2 separate regions of the Homo sapiens genome follow, and region 1 is linked to region 2. The links are contacts of gene promoters, found by promoter capture Hi-C in human tissues and cell types (Jung and others, 2019). All regions are on one chromosome and are shown on one strand. The core of a region is centred on a gene start or on the middle of the fragment in contact, and the rest is flanking DNA. Distances in the headings are between cores, read along the strand shown.

Region 1 (4,197 bases), core at 622-3,121, 760 kb before region 2:
GTAAAGAAATGCATGCATCTTGTTTTAGTGTGCTCAATGTGTGCTCAATGCATTTTTGAAGATCAAAGACATGCAAAAGGCGACAAACAAAAATATTTTTAAGTCAATCACCAAGACTCCTATTATCTAAAAGCAATCCCTGTAACAGTGCTGTGTCTAACTTCTGTGTTTTCTCACTTGATAAGTTTTTATTCTTTTAGCTTATTCTATGTAATTGTGATTATATTTTATGCAGCATTTTATGCACTGGCTTTTTCACTTCACTTTTTAATAAACATTTTCCAAGTTTTAAATGCTTTGTAAGCATAATATACCATAAAGTGAGCATACCATGGAGATACTCATCCCATTTAGGTTGTTTCCAATTTGAAGGCTGTTATAAATAAAGCTGAAATGAGCATTTTTCTGTATAAACTTTTTCCCCAATTTTTCTAGATTATTTTCTTACAGAGGAATATCTGCAGGGAAATCTCTGAGTTAAATGTTAGAAGGACCCTCAAACTCTAAGGACCTATTTTAAATGAACATCTCTGTGTGCTGTGGATTGGAAAGAAGAACCCCAAATCAACGCTAAAGCAAGATGATAAACTCTTAGTGGTTTTAATTCGTTAACTCCCATGGACACACCTCATCCCAATTTCCTTTCTCACAACTTAGAGTCTTACTTTTCCACTTCCTCCTCCAAGTTCATCTGGAACTTTCCTAATACTGAACAGAAGAACATAACTGCCAGTAAAATGACAGGGAGAAAGGAGAAAAAGAGGCAAAGAGAGAGAAGAGAAAAAGAGGAAATGGGAGGAGGGGGAGCAAAAAGAGGGAAAGAGAGGAAGACAAGGCCACTTGGTGCATTCATTGATATGGTTTGGCTGTGTCCCTACCCAAATCTCACCTTGAATTGTAATAATCCCCACGCAGGGCATGGCTAAGTGGAGATAATTGAATCATGGAGTGGTTTCTCCCATAGTGTTTTCGTGGTAGTGAACAAGTCTCAGGATATCTGATGGTTTTATAAGGGGCTTTGTCCCATTTTGTTCAGCACTTCTCTTACCTGCTGCCACGTAAGACATGACTCTGCTTCTCCTTTGCCTTCTGACGTGATTGTGAGGCTTCCCCAGCCATGTAGAACTGTGAGTCCACTGAGCCTCTTTCCTTTATAAATTACCCAGTCTCAGATATGTCTTTCTTAGCAGCATGAGAACAGACTAATACATTAATTTTTAAAAAGCCTTTGAGTTTTGTGTAATTTATATTTTTCTCCAAACACTTCCATTTTTTTAAGGCTGGAGCATTGTCATAGAAGACACATCAATTTTAAGTTCTTTGACAACCAAGCTTCTTTTTCTATTATCTCACCACTTTCTCCCTTTTGAGAAACTCTTCTTAGTGAAGTCTTGGTGAAACGCTCCAGTCTATCACTTAAAAAGAAAAACCAAGCGCAGCTCTTCCCGCCCTGTCCTTGGTCAACAGGAAGCTGGCACATGAATTGGGCTTATCCAGTTGTCAATTAATTCTGGGGTTTGTATCCTGAAAGAGTGGCCAAATAATGCGGAGGCCTCAGCAGCCAGCTCATGCTTCTGTTGTGACCCCTGCTGCAATCTTCGATGATCAGCTCCCCTGTTGATTACCCGTTCCTAAGTCTGGTCCTCCTGCTTCTAGTTTCTTCTATAGATCCCCGAGAACCCTTCCAATAATCTCCCTTTTCACTGAGTCCATCTTTGTTGCTTGTAAAGAAGGCTCTGTCTGAATCAAGTAGGCAGAACAGGGCCTCATTTAGAGGTTTGGACTTTAGAGCAGTGGGAAACCACTGCGTGCGTAAAAACTCTTTCTGCACTCATTGCCCAGGGGGAAAACAGAGACATGGAGTATGAGGGGAGTTAAGGGGGAAAAAAAAGGAAAGAAAAAAGAAAGAGAGAGAGAGAGGGTCACACACGTGGAATTGCCCGGAAGGGTGGGGAGCAGACAGAAGGCTTCCGAGAGTGGCCGACACATCGAGATCAAGAACATTCAAGGACATTCTCGCTTTAGCATCACACTCAGACTCGGGGGACCAGGAAGTGAAGACAAGGACTGAGACACTGTAAAAACTGCATGTCTGAAAGCAACGGCAAGGGCAAATGAGGATGCCAGGAGAGACATTTTACGCAGCTCCTGAGCGATTTTGCAGGGCTTCATGTAGCTCACTTCAGGGGAACAGAAAGAATGAAGTTTGGTAATAATTTGCCCTTCTGACAGCCTCTGACCCCACAATACTCATCTCCAATATATTCGACACAAAAAGGCCACCCCAGCATAGAGCTATCTCTCCTTCTCACCTTCTGGAAGAGAGTTTCCTAAACTTTACTGATAAGAGTCACTTGCAACTCCGGTTAAAAATTTAGCTTCCCGGCTGGGCACGGTGGCTCATGCCTGTAATCCAGCACTTTGGGAGGCCGAGGAGGGTAGATCATGAGGTCAGGAGTTCAAGACCAGCCTGGCCAAGATGGTGAAAACCCATCTCTACTAAAAATACAAAAATTAGCCAGGCGTGGTGGTGGGCGCCTGTAATCCCAGCTACTCAGGAGGCTGAGGCAGGAGAATTGCATGAACCCAGGAGGCGGAGCTTGCAGTGAGCCGAGATCGCACTACTGCACTCCAGCCTGGGCGACAGAGCGAGACTCCGTCTCAAAAAAAAAAAAAAAAAAAAAAAAAAACAGCTTCCTAGGTTTTGCCCCTGGACATTCCTATACAGAGGGTCAGGGTGGGATCTGAGAAATTTTTTTTAACCAGTTCTACCACATAATTCTTGTCATCATAAAAGTGTGGAAAACACTACCGTATAATTAGTTACTTGGTGCAGGTATGTAATAGACACCTAGCAGTGTCTATCGGGTGTCTATTGGAGCAGGGGCTAGAGGAGAGGATTGTTATAGAGTAAAAATGATGCTTTCCCTGCTGTGGGAAGGATTACAGTCTTAAGGGATGGACAGAACTATTCATAACTAATTTGAATACAAGCCAAACTATAAGCATAGGAGTGATTGTCCAGTTAAGGGACTATAGAAGACAGAAGACAGCATTGAAGGGGTAGATGGCAAATTGTGGAGACTTGGTGAGAAAGGAGGCCTTTGACCTAGGGCCTAAATGGATTTTGCGCAAAAATAAAAATCAATCCCTTTGAGGCTGGCACTGGAAAGAAAATACCCTGGAGGAAGGAGCACCAGATTCTGGAGCTCTGAACTTGTTTCCAGATCCTCTCTTGCTTCGCCTCCTTCTCTGTTTCCATTGTCACCATCCTGCTGGCCTCAGAGGGTAGTAATCTTCAAACACTCTGGCCCAGACAGAAAAAAGAAAGCCCTTTCAATGAACTCCCCATTGTCCAGCTGAGGCTGAGGCAAGGCTGAAATTAAAAATAATGAAAATCAATAGGCCCTTTACTAAATGCTGAAGAGCAGAAACAAGGAAATAAACAGTCCTATAAAATCAAAACATCTAAGAGGCCCACTCCATCCACATGGAACCCCTAAGGAAAGGGAATTATTCCTGACTCCTTCTCTTCCTATGTCCTGATCGCACTTGACTTGACAGGTACTATTTTCATCTTTGTCTATCATTTGGACTCCTAAAAGTCTAGACAAGGAGAAGGAGAATCATTCTCCTTGAATGGAGTGTTTCCCCTCCCAGGTCCAGCCTCCTGAGTTAGAACTCACCTCTCCTCCAAGCAACTGAGAGCGACTGACTTTCTTTCTGAGCTTCGGTTTCTTTACGGCTTTTCAAAGAACACCATGGCTACTTTGTCTGAAATCAAGTCTGGATGCTGTCATTAATTAACTGCATAAATTCTGTCTAGGCATTTAACCTTTCTGAGTTTCTATTTTTCTGTAGGTAAAATTAAAGGTTTGTATTAGAGCTCAGCTCAGTCCCATTTCTGATCTGTCTGTACTTCTAGGGACATCCATGGGCATGACTCAAATTGTTCATAGTATATGTTTTGCCTCAGCAGTAACACCTTAAATGAAATAGCCTGAACCTAAAAGCTCAAGTCTAAGAGGGCTCACATACCTAAATTCAAACATCCCTCTGCTTTTAGAGAGCAAGCCCAGTGTGTGGGAACTGAGCTCTTGGATTCTCTACTTCTCTATGTATAGCATTTAAAGTACATTAGGACTGAGGGACTCCAGAAGACCTTTCTCTCTCTGGCAAACTTAGCTGCATGCAAAA
Region 2 (4,511 bases), core at 866-3,365:
TTATCAGCTTTCTCATTAAACCAAATTGTCTTCAATTCTTCATGAGTAAAAAGCAGAAATATTCATATCATTAGACTTGGGTTCTTATTGCAGTCTAGCCACCAATTGGATGTGAACATGCATTTTTAGATTATTTGCCAATGAAGACCACAATAATTCACTTTTCTTCATTCACCCCTTGAATAGTCTTCTCCCACATTTACTCTGAACTTGGCCATGTGACTTGCTTTGGCCAATGGGACCATGGCATCTAGGATGCAAGCAGAGGCCTGGAAAAGGCTGGAGGCTGGAGTTTCCCCTCTCCCACTGCCCTTAGTGCCCCAAACCCACCGTGTACATGGGCCTAGCTGGCCACTAGATAACAGGAAGCTATGCAGAGGAGAACAGAGGCACCTGGCTGACATGATTGCCAACAAACAGATTCATGAGTGTGATAATCTTAGATCATCCAACTGCCTCTCAACCCACTAGCACAGACCAGATGATCAGGTCTTGTTATGGGTCGAATACGTCCCAGCTAAAATTCATTTGTTAAAGTCCTAACCCCCCACTACCTTGGAATGCCTTCTGACATGGAGACTGGGTCTTTAAAGAGGTAATCAAGTTAAAATTGGGTAATTAGGGTGAGCCATCATTCACTGTGACTCCTCTCCTGATAAGAAGGGGAAATTTGGACAAAGACACAGGGAGAATGCCATGTAAACACAAAAACAAGGATACAAAGACACCCACAAGCCGGGGATAAAGGCCTGGAACAGATCTTCTCCTCATGGCTCTCAGGAGGATCCAACCTTGCCGACTCCTTGATCTCAGACTTCCAGAGGCCAGACTGTGAGACAATACAATTTGACCTTCTGTTTTGTTAGCCACTCAGGGCTCAGTCCTTTGTTATGAAAACCCCAGAAAATTAATATGGGTCCAGACCAAAAGAAGTGAGCAAGTGACACACACAATTATGAACTAAATAAAGTGGTTACTGCTTTAAGCCCCTAATGCAGCAAAAGCTAATTAATAAAGTGGTTAAACTACTCGAGTCTCCCTAGTCTTCAGTTTTCACAATTACAAAATGGGATTTTACATATGTTCCTTACATGGTTATTAGTAAGATTAAGGAGGATAATGCTTGCAAGTTGCTTAGCAATGTAACTGACTCACAATTAGCATTCAAAGAGTGCTTATTTTCATGTTTTCCTTGGGGTGTCTGTTAAGTCAAAACCAGAGTTATTTACCCAAGAAAATATAAACTTCTACCTTTGAATTTATTGTAAATAATGTTGGAGTTTGTTATGGAATTCAACATCAATTTATATAAAACTAGAATGTCAAGTCTCCAGAAGAGGAAACAGGCACTCGGCAAGATCAGCTTAAATGGACCAAGATTAAGGCCGAAAGAAAATGTATTAAGCAACTGATATGTGCCCAAACATTACTGCATGCCTTTATTTACAATATTTTGTTTATTTATTGAAATACTTCTAAAATATAAATATTATCCTTCCATCACAATTGAGGAAATATCATTTCCTCAATGAAGGAAATATAATCCTCAATTATCCCTCATTTTTTAAAAAAGTTTCTAAAATACAAATATTATTATCACTCAAACTACTTGAGAAATAAACTTCAAAGTGCCCAAGATCCTATAGCTAATAATTAATACAGCAAGAATAAGAGGCAGGCATTTCTCCTTTAGTTCCCAGGTTCTTTCCTTAACACCTGGTCCATGTGTCTGGGATGGTCTCAGGAAGCCATTGCAAAATTAAGCCAAAAGATGATAGTTAATGTCCACTATTCATATAAAGTGAGACTCGCAAAACCCACCTTCCATGCTTGAGTGTTGCCCAGCAGTTCCTTTTATTGTGTTCTGGTAACTATGAAGTGCCACATAAGGACACCGTGTGTCTTTAAAAACACCCTTTGCATTGGAAGATTTCAGCCTCTGAAAGCTTCACGTATTGCACTCCAGCCTAAGAAGAGGAAGTCCTGCCAGCCCTCAGGTCAGACCTCTCAGGTCTGTGGCTGCATTTCACAGGAAACCAAGTCTAAAACGGACCTATCAGGAGGTTTTCTGCTGAAGGGCACTGCTTAGCATCGAGAAGAATTCAACCCACCGCCTTACTAATTTCCAGTGCCCCAAGGTCTCTGCACTGCCGCCCCTCCTCACAGGAGACGGACACCTCAGCCTAGATCCCTTGGTGCTCTCCACGCTGTTCAGGTAAACTCATTAGGCCAGTTCTTCTGAGTGAGGATCTCATGGTCATCTCCTTGTCATAAATGATCATCAGGAAAGACCTGAGCAGCAAGTAAAAATGTGTTTCTAAAGTGGAAGTCTGGGCCTTATATATAGCATCAAAGGAGCAAGAAGAAAGCCCTTAACTCAATTGTTAAAGATCCTTTCATTCTTTTGGGAGAAAGAATCAGGATACCTACCCACAGAAAATTAAAAGACTAAATGTTTTCAATCTTCTTTTCCTGGAGCTTGGACTCCCCGACTGTTTGCAACTGAAATCTAAAGACCAGGCCCCATGGCTGGCTTTCCTGGCTGACCTTCATTAAGTAAGCCCTCTAGAAAGAAAGCCTCCATTCAAAGTAGGTCATTCAAAGTATAAGTTAACTCCTGGAGCCCTGTGGAAATATATTTTTAACATTTTCTAAAGTAATACGATTTTCTTTCTGCTTTGGTGTAGAGGAGACTTAGACTTTGGAATCACGCAGACATCCTTCCACTCACAAGAGTAAGGAGCTCAAAAGTGAGGTTAAAGTTGGGGTTAAATTCTTACTCTTGAAAAGTGCCGGGAGTCATCTCTACCAGGCTTTTATTGGATAAAGCAAACAAACTGGAATGAGACAGAAAAGAAAATAACTATCATCAAAATATGGATACTTTGATTTTAAAAGGTGTCGATATGCCTGAACTTTTTATCAATACTGTTTTTATTACTTTACACCAGTGTTACTCATTTGGCTTCTCTGTTATGAGTATTACTTGTCTATTACCTACATGGCTATTTCTCTGGCTGTCTCTGTCTATACTGTGGCGCAGCTCCTCAATAGTGTTGTTCTTTGGATTTCCAGGGGCCTCCCAAACCACCAGGAATAATCATTTCAAATATCAAGAAGACGATGGTAGAGCTGGTTAATTGAAGGCCTACCAGAGAAATGACAGCGCTTCAGAAATCCTCTAAGAAGCTTAAGATACAGTATGCCCTAGAGAAGTAGGAATGGCAACTGGCATTTACTTACCTTCAGCTCCTGCTGACCTAGAGAGCTGGCTATTACTTTCCCTGGTTTACAGGTGAAGAACTTGAGTTCTCTAAGTAATATGTGCAAGGTTGTTCAGTCACTAATGTCAGTAACAGAATTCAGAAGGAAACTGATTTTCCTGGCTGACTGATTGGAATGGTGAACAGTGTTAGTTTGCAGTTTCACAGAGCTCATCCCTAAACTCACTCCTGGGTGGTCTCTGACACCAACCATCTAAATGGTAGTATTTCTTTGTTATTCCCAACAAGCCCTCTCAGATGACTGTATAGGCAAGACCATTTGAAAGCCAGTGCTTATAATCTTCTGTACCATCTGGCCAGCTCTGGCCTGAACACCAGGGGATTCTGTTTCTCGATCACTTTGCCATGAGTCAGGTGCTGTCTTAGAAAGACTGTAGGATTTGACGCCTGATCAAAATGGTGAGGATCCTGACTCTGCCACTTGGACCAGGGATGTTGTTTCATATATGATCCTCATTTCCTCCCCCTTTTTAATAAAGTAAGATCTCATAAGACTTGTATTGACAATTATTTAGCCTCAATAATATAATATTTATATTACGTGAAATATGGTGCATTCTTAACACTTAGCAAGTATTCAGTAAGTGTTGACTTCTTTCTCCATTACTTTCCTTTCCTCACTCCAAATCAGTTCTGATTTTATTCTTAAAACATGACCACAATCAACATAGAATTGATTAATACACATAAGTTTACAAATATTGTATTTTAATAATCTCATTAGAGAATGGTAATATTCCACAGTTGTATAGCCCTATGTAATGTAGGCCTTTGAATACATATTTTCTTCTTGAATGATCTTAACAGCTTAATGAAGTAGGCAGAGCACGTATTAGAGCATTTAAAAGGTGAAACTGGGGCTTAGAAAAGATGAGGAAGGACAACATGGTGAAATGGAAAGAAACAGGGCTTTGAGATTGTCAAAAATGGACATGAATCTAGTGTGTGACTTTACTGTTCGTCTTTAGGTAAGTAGCTTAACCTCTCTGATCTTTAGTTAGCTGTTGTTGGAGTTGTGTAATTTGAAACTGGGAGGAAGAATACATTTTGTGTGTTGCTTCGAGAGTGAGAGCAAATGTGCACACAGTGTCTGACACAGAAGAGATAGCCAGGAACTGGCTAAATTTTCACATGAAGAGTAGCAGACAGAGATCTAGAAGCATCCTTTTCTGAATCCTAGTACATGGAGCAGTTATATCCACTGTCATAAGCTACTGCCAACATCTG

Evidence for each region. Contacts are between HindIII fragments. The study calls those that stand out against the background at their distance.
Region 1: a fragment that was not itself captured here is called in contact with the fragment with the promoter of CLNK in region 2 in 1 of the 25 tissues and cell types used here (lymphoblastoid cells).

What each region holds. Positions count from the first base shown.
Region 1 is chr4:11,446,364-11,450,560 of GRCh38, reverse strand. No RefSeq gene overlaps it. Among named protein-coding and RNA genes, the nearest start is that of HS3ST1, 20 kb to the right of the region's middle. The HindIII fragment of the contact is 6,395 bases long and covers 1-4,197 here.
Region 2 is chr4:10,682,372-10,686,882 of GRCh38, reverse strand. CLNK (cytokine dependent hematopoietic cell linker) reads left to right here and starts at 2,115. Exons shown (of 19, transcript NM_052964.4): 1 at 2,115-2,215. The HindIII fragment of the contact is 5,072 bases long and covers 964-4,511 here.